Regions from separate parts of the Homo sapiens genome. Here region 2 is linked to region 1. Evidence: promoter capture Hi-C in 16 types of primary human blood cells and fetal thymus (Javierre and others, 2016). All regions are on one chromosome and are shown on one strand. The core of a region is centred on a gene start or on the middle of the fragment in contact, and the rest is flanking DNA. Distances in the headings are between cores, read along the strand shown. Region 1 holds the start of ABCA13 (ATP binding cassette subfamily A member 13). Region 2 overlaps VWC2 (von Willebrand factor C domain containing 2).

Region 1 (4,072 bases), core at 498-2,997:
GCAGGAGTTACCACTTTAAATAAACAGTTATCAAACAAATAAAACCTTCTGATGAGGATGTTTGCCTTAGCAGCAAAAGTAATTGTGAAAATTTTTTAAAACTCAAGTATCCATTAAGGAGGAGTAGGCAGTCTGGCTACCTCGGTCACTGAACTGTTTTGAGGTAGATATGCATAAAGCAGAAAGAGCAGTGCCTGGGAACCAACTTCCACCCATAACACTCTTTCATGGGAAAATAGGCTAATTCCCTAAAACAAACTTACATGTCAATGAAATACACTGTTTATAAATGTAAAACTACCTACACAGACACGAACACACTAACAATCAATGAAGACTGTCTCACTCCTTTATTCCTGAACTTAAAACTTTTTTTTTTTTTTTTTTTTTTTTTTTTTTTTTTTTTTGAGACGGAGTCTCGCTCTGTCGCCCAGGCTGGAGTGCAGTGGCGCGATCTCGGCTCACTGCAAGCTCCGCCTCCCGGGTTCACGCCATTCTCCTGCCTCAGCCTCCCGCGTAGCTGGGACTACAGACGTCCGCCACCACACCCGGCTAATTTTTTTGTGTTTTTTTAGTAGAGACGGGGTTTCACTGTGTTAGCCAGGATGGTCTCGATCTCCTGACCTCGTGATCCGCCCGCCTCGGCCTCCCAAAGTGCTGGGATTACAGGCGTGAGCCACCGCGCCCGGCCAACTTAAAACTTTTGTACAAACTTTCAACTGAAATTATTTTGATCCTAAAGATCACATAAAAAAGAAAACATCTCCTTTAACTTGTATTTTATTTCAAGACAGAGAGATAGAATATTCTGGCTCGGAGGATTCAGCAAAATGTAATTCAATGTCAATTACTGAATCTCTTCAAACCAAAGCATTTGTCAGCAGAAAATTCCCATAGGTTAACTGTAGACCTTAAAATCAGAAACGATGCAGGTAAATTACTGCACATCTACTTCTCCTGAAAATGACATTTATAGGTATTAATGTTTATATAGTGGCATCAGGAATAAAGTTAGTCATAATAACAAGCAATTGATTTCTATTTCACAAAAACGTACACTTACAGGATATTTGCATAAGTATTCACACAAGTTTCATTTGAACAATTCCAATCTCCTTAGGAAAACCTTGCTAATGTAATTTGAATACAGTTCTAAATAGATGTGAATTAACACTAAAGATGGTGACCCTACAGAATAACAGAGTGGATGTGTCATACCCTGCTCTGGTGAGGCACACTGTGCAGTCTTGTGCTTCGGAGTCAGTACCTGTAGCATTCTGCTTATGCATTAAATGCAGCAAATGCTTTGTTCCTTAAACCTGAGAATTCACTGTTCAGTTTTTACAACGAATGCTTAGAACACAAATTATAGTTCAATTCCACCTGCTTTTTTGTTTGTTTGTTTTTAGAATTTTTCTAAATTTGCCCTTTTCTGATAAATTCTTCAGCCTTGATTTCATCCTGGTCATTAAAGTGTTCAGCTACTTTGGCCCTTGGGACGGGTTTTGATTTAAAATAATCCAACCTCCCCAAATTCCCTGCAGCATGAGTGTTTTTACCTGCCAGGAGGCAGAGGCAGGCAGGAAAGAATAGACCCTGATCTTGCTCCAGACCTCACTGGAACCCTATGGAAAACCAAGGCAAGCACTCACCGGGTTCCTGAGTCTGCAGAGCCAATTCTTCCACAGCAGGGCTTTGAACTGGCACCCGGCATGCCCCATGCCTGCTGCTCCCTGCTCTCAGTCAGGAAGCCAGCCTGTAAGGATGGTGCTTATATCTGCTGGGCTCAAGTGAAGGCATGTTGCCTATTAGTCAATTCTAACAAAAGTGAGTGATGCAAGAGAGATTACTGGTGACTGAATAAAACAGGCATCAGATGTCCCCTCTTGTTCGGCATCTGCTGAGAAATCTTTTCACTAGCTGTTCAGTGTTTCAGGAGGGTTGAATTACAGAAAGCTGCCTTCAGGGACTTTCTCGGGCATACACACATACACAGAGAGGGTGCCCTCCCTTTCCGAGAACCCACAGAACTGATCTGTGCGACAAGAAGTAATGCCCACATTTACCATTTACCTCCCTTTTTTTCTGGATATTAATTAGATGGAATTTTCCTTTTTTCTTCTGAAGCATTGGTTATTACACAAATTTGCCAAAATATTTCAATTTTGGTGGTCCCATGGCAGAGAGTTTGAAGGGAAGGAGATGGAAGCAGTGTTGGTGTCTGGGGGAGTTTGGGGAATGGGTGACTCAAGTTCCACTCTGCTACTGCACCTGCACTTCATACTTCTCCTTCACCCATTTCCTCCAAAGGGATCAGGATCTACGTTTCAAATGGTATCGGGTGCAGATGTGGCAGGACTCAGCAAGTGGCCTGTGGATTACCTCTGAGTCCTGTTTGATTCCTGAACACTTGCACTTTCTAAGTGGCATGATGGATTCAGCTTGCCAGCTGGTGGCTCCATCGTCTTGGAAGCCAGGCCCTCTTGAGTTCCTGTTGCCCCCAGTTGTGGTCAGAAGGATTTCAGGCAACCCAGTCTTGTGGTCTTCTATTTCATAAAGCAATTTTCACAAGCTGTGAATGCTTGATAAATGGCTTTTGCAATAGGAAACAGGGAACACAGGCTTCAGCAAAGAAACTGACTCAATTATTTTGTAAACTTATTTGTTTAGAGCATGCCTATTTTATTTTATTTTTTGTTACATGGCTGGCAGCACTAGAGTGAAGGCCATTACTTAGCAGGATGGCGCCCAGCAACCATAAGTGGATTTGCCTGATCCCCATATGATGTTCCCCCTTGACCTGTGACTTCTCAAAGGTCTTTGGGGTTGCCTAAGTATTGCTACTCTGGTTCTCTTTGCAGATAACATCTAGAACACCTTACAAGTAATTGTCATAATTTTTAAAAATCTAGTATAAGAAAAAGCCTCCAACCATAAGGTTTTTCTCATGTTATGTTCATAGCAGCCAGTTTTTATGCTGCTATGCCAGAATTATGTCAGAGACACAAAAATTATCTCATCCATTGCTTTCATGGAACAATGCTGTGTTAGGATTTTCAGATAAACAGAACCAATGGGTGATTCATTGATCGATTGATTGATTGATTATAAGGAATAGGCTCACACAGTCATGGAGGTGGGCAAGTCCTAAGATCTGCAAGGTGAATTAGCAAGTCAGAGACCCAAGGAAGCCAATGATATAGTTCCAGTCCGAGTCCAAAGACCTGAGAACAGGAGAGCCAATGGTGTAGTTGCCATCCAAAGACTGGGAAACTTGAGACCCAGGACAAGCTGGTATTTCCATAAAGTCTGAAGGCAGAAAACAAAAAAAAGCCAATGTCCCAGTATGAAGGCCATCAGACAGAAATAATTATCTAACTTAGGGGAAAGTCAGACTTTTTGTTCTGTTTAGGTCTTCAACTAATTGGATGAGACCCACTCACACTAGGGAGGGCCATCTGCTGAATTCAGTCTACCTACTTAAATATTAATGTCATTTATAAACACCCTTGCAGAAACTCCCAGAATAATGCTATCTTTTGTTCCGTGTTTCAGCCAAGAAAACAAACAAGCAATTAGAGCCCTTCCTAACTCCATGAGCTGCCATATTAAATGCAGAATAACTGCTTAGTGACCCCATATTAGCAAATTTGGCCTGATACAATTTTATGTTCCTTCCATCATTATCCCATACCCTTATATCCATTTCCACACATATTCCCCAGATTTCTGCTTGTATACATTAGAAAACTCAAATTGTCCATTTGATGTATAGCACACTTCCTCATGGTTTATACCTTATATCTCCCCTTTGGGTGCTGCTGGGACTTGAATCTAGTTATAGGTCTGAAATGAACGAGGAATGGTGGGAGTGGGTTCTGAGGAGAAGCAGAAGCGCCTTGCATGGCAACTGCCTCATGGTAGGACATTATAGTTTTCTTAGGCAAGGCAGGGTTGATCCCCTCAGACATGGGGTAAGAGACTACTTCCACTAGGACTGGGGAAAATGCCTCCACTTGAGTGTGGAGATCTCTTCCACATAACAAAGAAGACGTTATTTAGGGGCTCAGTG
Region 2 (4,072 bases), core at 743-3,242, 1.7 Mb before region 1:
TAAAACAATTGTTACTTGAAGCCACTACGTTTTGCGGTTGGTTATACAGCCAAAGCTAATTGATTCAGTGCTCATGTTACTCCCATTTTTCAGCTGGGAAAACTGAGGGTTACACACTTCAGTAAATTATCAAAGATATCAAAATGGATAGGAGAGAATCTATTACTTGATCCAAGGTACTCAGATTTCAGAGATCAACTCTTTCATCACTGTTCCTCAAGAAGCTTTTGCCTTTCTCTCCTACCCCACGGACCACACAAACAACTGAACTGCACATTCTCTTCCTCCTCTTCCTGAACTGGCATATTCTTATAAAAGCAATATACAAAATCAATTACATCTTTACATGGCAAATTTCAGCAAGAAAACATGACAGAAAAGTATTCCATTTACAATTCTTTACAAAAAATAAGATCTTTAAGAATAAATATAGAGGGATATCAGAAAAAATTGAGAGTAGGCAGCTCTACCCCTCCCATTCTTCCCACAGGAGCACTGAAAAACAAACAGGAACTGTCAGAACCAGCTTCATTAGAAACGTGGAAAACAGTCAAAGGTTTACAGCAACAAAGCAAGCACTGAATCACGAACAAGGCAACTTAAAAATGGCAGGAAAGCTTTGAGGCAGTCTTGATTGTCCTTGCTTCACCCTCCCCTGCTCAGCAGCAGTCTCCATTCCCATGCTGGGAACTTGGTCCCGGGTTCAGAAGGGAGCAGACAGCATTCATAAATTATTGTGCATGTCTGTTTGAAACTGTCTGGAGCTACTTGAAAGACCAACAGAAGATGCAGGCCTCTGTTTTGCCTAACTCAGAAGCCATTCGGGATGGAAGAGCAGTAGATGATGCTCGAAAACACCGTAAGGCTGACAACAACCTGCAGCCAACTACCCAGGCCAAAAGACAACTGTTGAGACATGCAGAGGCCTACTAGAGTGAGGGAGAAAGAGCCCAGAAAGAGCTTCCTTGGGATATTCGGGCATTCTAAAGCACCCATGTATTTGGAGGAATCTAGAACACCATGCACTTGCCCAAGGTAAGATGCATGATCAGAAAAAAACTGAGAAGACCTTAAGCTTTCATCCCAGGTGGATTCTGAGGCTCCTGGGAAATCCAGTTAAGGGGTGAAGGAAGGTCCAAGCACAGAACAATTCTGCAGAGACTACAAGAGGTTCTCCTATCTTCTCCTCCCTCCTTCTTTGTCTTCTTTCTCTGTCTTCCTCTCTTTCCCTTGATATTCAAGGAAACCTTTGGAAAAAGCTAACTGAACAATATCTAAGGAACAGACTTCAGTGACACCAATGGCAAGGAGTACAGTCTGAAAAATAGTTAAGAAAAGTCACAAAACAGACAAACAATCACAGCCCGCAACAACAACAACAACAACAAAAACAGGAGACCTCTGGAAGAAGGGCAGTCTGATTTCCAATTTTACCACACTATAATAAACAATATATGATTTTTGCAAAACTAAAGGGAAAATATTTTAAAACAAAATAAAGAAAAAATATTTTAAAACAACATACGAAAACTTACAGAAAAAACTATGCTAAAAGGGAAATTTATGGCTATAAATGCTTATATTATAAAACAGAAAAGGATCTCAAATCGATAATCTAACTTTACACCTAAAAGAATGAGTAAAAAGAGAGCACACTAAACCCAAGGTTAGCAGGAGGAAGGAAATAATACAGATTAGCACAGGATAAACAAAATAGAGAATAGAAAAGCAGACCAGGTGCAGTGGCTCACGTCTCTAATCCCAGCACTTTCGGAGGCTGAGGTGGGCGGATGGCTTGACTCAGGAGTTAAAGACTAGACTAGGCAACATGGCAAGACCCCTTCTCTACACAAAATACAAAATTTATCTGGGCATGGTGGTGCACACCTGTAGTCCCAGCTACTTGGGAGGCTGAGGCAGGAGGATCGCTTGAGCCCAGGAGGTGGAGGTTGCAGTGAGCTGAGATCATGCCATGCACTCCAGCCTGTGTGACAGAGTGAGATCTTGTCTCAAAAAAGAAAAGAAAAGAAAAAAAGGGAGAGAGAATCAACAAAGCCAAATTTGGTGCTTTGTAAAGATCAACAAAACTGACAAATCTTTAGCTGGAGTGGCGAAGATAAAAAGAGAGAAGATACAAATTACTAAAATCAGGAATGAAAGTGGGAGCTCACAGAAATAGAAAGGATTGTAAAGGATTGCTATGAACAAATGTACTCCAACAAATTAGATAAACTACGTGAAATGGACAAATTCCTAGAAACACACAAACTACCTAAGCTGACTCACAAAGAAGAAAAATAACAAAACACCTATAACAAGTGAAGATATTGAATCAGTAATCCAAAACCTCCCAACAAATAAAAGTTCAGGACCAGATGGTTTCACTGGTGAATTATTTCAGACATATAACAAACAATTAGCACAAATCCTTCTCAAACTCTTCCATATAATAGAAGAGGGAGGAATACATCCTACCTCACTGTAAGAGGCCAGCATTACCTTGATACCAAAGCCAGATTGAGACATCACAAGAAAAGTATAGGTAAATATCTCTAATGAGACAGATAAAAAACATCCTCAGTGAAACAGTAGCAAAGTGAATACAACAGCATATTAAAAGGATTATACATCATGACCAAATGGGATTTATTCCTTGAATGTAAGGGTGATTCAACCTACAAAAATTAATGGACATAATACAACACATTAACAGAATGAAGAATGAAAAAAAAAAACTCATGGTCATCTCAATTGATGCAGATAAAGCATTTAACAAAATCCAATGATCTATTATAATGAAAAAAAAAACACATCAAAGTAGGAAGAGAAGGGAACTTCCTCATCATAAAGTCTTTTATGAAAAACCTACAGCTAACATTTTACTCAATGGTGAAATAATGAAAGCTTTCCCCCTAAAATAGGAACAAGACAAGGATTTCCAATTTCACCACTGCTATTCAACATTTATTGGAAGTTCTAGCCAGAACAACTAGGCAAAGAAAATAAAAGCATCCAAATTGGAAAGGAAGAAATAAAACTATCTCTATTCACGGTTAGTATGATCCTGTCTATAGAAAACCTCAAATAATTCATGAGAAGATACTAGGGCTAATAATTGAACTCAGAAAACTTGCTGGTTACAAGATTGACACACAAAAAAAGGCTGTTTTTCTATATAGTGGCAATGAATAATTTGAAAAGAAATTTAAGAGAGCAATTCTATTTCAATAGCATCTAAAATAATAAAATATCTAGGAATAAATTTGAGGTAAAAGACTTGTGCATTAAAAACTATAAAACATTGCTTAAAGAAATTAAAGAAAACACAAATAAATGAAAAGATATCTGATGTTCATGGCTTGGAAGACTTAATATTGTCAGGATGGCAGTACTTCCCAAAGAAATCTACAGAGTCAATACAATCCCTTTCAAAATTCCAACAACCATTTTTTATGGAAATGGAAAAGCCTATCCTAAAATTCATATGGAATTGCACAGGTCCCTGGATAACCATAATAATCTTTAAAAAAGTCAAAATACACACAATTCCCAATTTACCACCAAGTTACAGTAATCAAAACAGTGTGGTACTGGCATAAGGACAGACATATAAACAATAGAATAAAATTCAGAGTCCAAAAGTAAACCCAGACTTCTGCATCCAACTGATTTTTGACAAGAGTGCCAAGTCTATTCAGTGAAGAAAAGATTAGCCTTTGCAAGAAATGGTGCTGGGACAACTAGAAAGCCATGTGCAAAAGAATGAAGTTGGTCCCCTACCTCATACCATATACAAAAATTAACTCAAAATTGGCCTGTGGCCTAAAGGCAATATCTAAAAATCATAAAACTCTTAAAAGAAAATAAAGGTTTAAATCTTTCTTACCCAGAATTTGGCAGCAGATTCTTAGAAATGACACCAAAACATGAACAACAGAAGAAAAAAATAGATGAACTGGATTTCATTAAAATTAAAAACTCACCTGCATAATGGGATATTTTATCAAGACAGTGAAAAGACAGCAAACAGAATGGGAGAAAATATTTGCAAATCATATATTTGATAAGGGCT

Evidence for each region. The method cuts DNA at HindIII sites, captures the fragments that hold promoters and counts their contacts. A CHiCAGO score of 5 or more calls a contact.
Region 2: a fragment that was not itself captured here is called in contact with the fragment with the promoter of ABCA13 in region 1 in 1 of 17 cell types (M1 macrophages); the score reaches 6.3 in M1 macrophages.

Annotation. Positions count from the first base shown.
Region 1 is chr7:48,169,133-48,173,204 of GRCh38, reverse strand. ABCA13 (ATP binding cassette subfamily A member 13) reads right to left here and starts at 1,747. Exons shown (of 62, transcript NM_152701.5): 1 at 1,653-1,747. The coding sequence starts at 1,721. The HindIII fragment of the contact is 8,502 bases long and covers 1-4,072 here.
Region 2 is chr7:49,861,390-49,865,461 of GRCh38, reverse strand. The region is part of intron 3 of VWC2 (von Willebrand factor C domain containing 2); the gene reads right to left. It also overlaps a transcript of ZPBP not described here. Among named protein-coding and RNA genes, the nearest start is that of VWC2, 90 kb to the right of the region's middle. The HindIII fragment of the contact is 1,829 bases long and covers 1,078-2,906 here.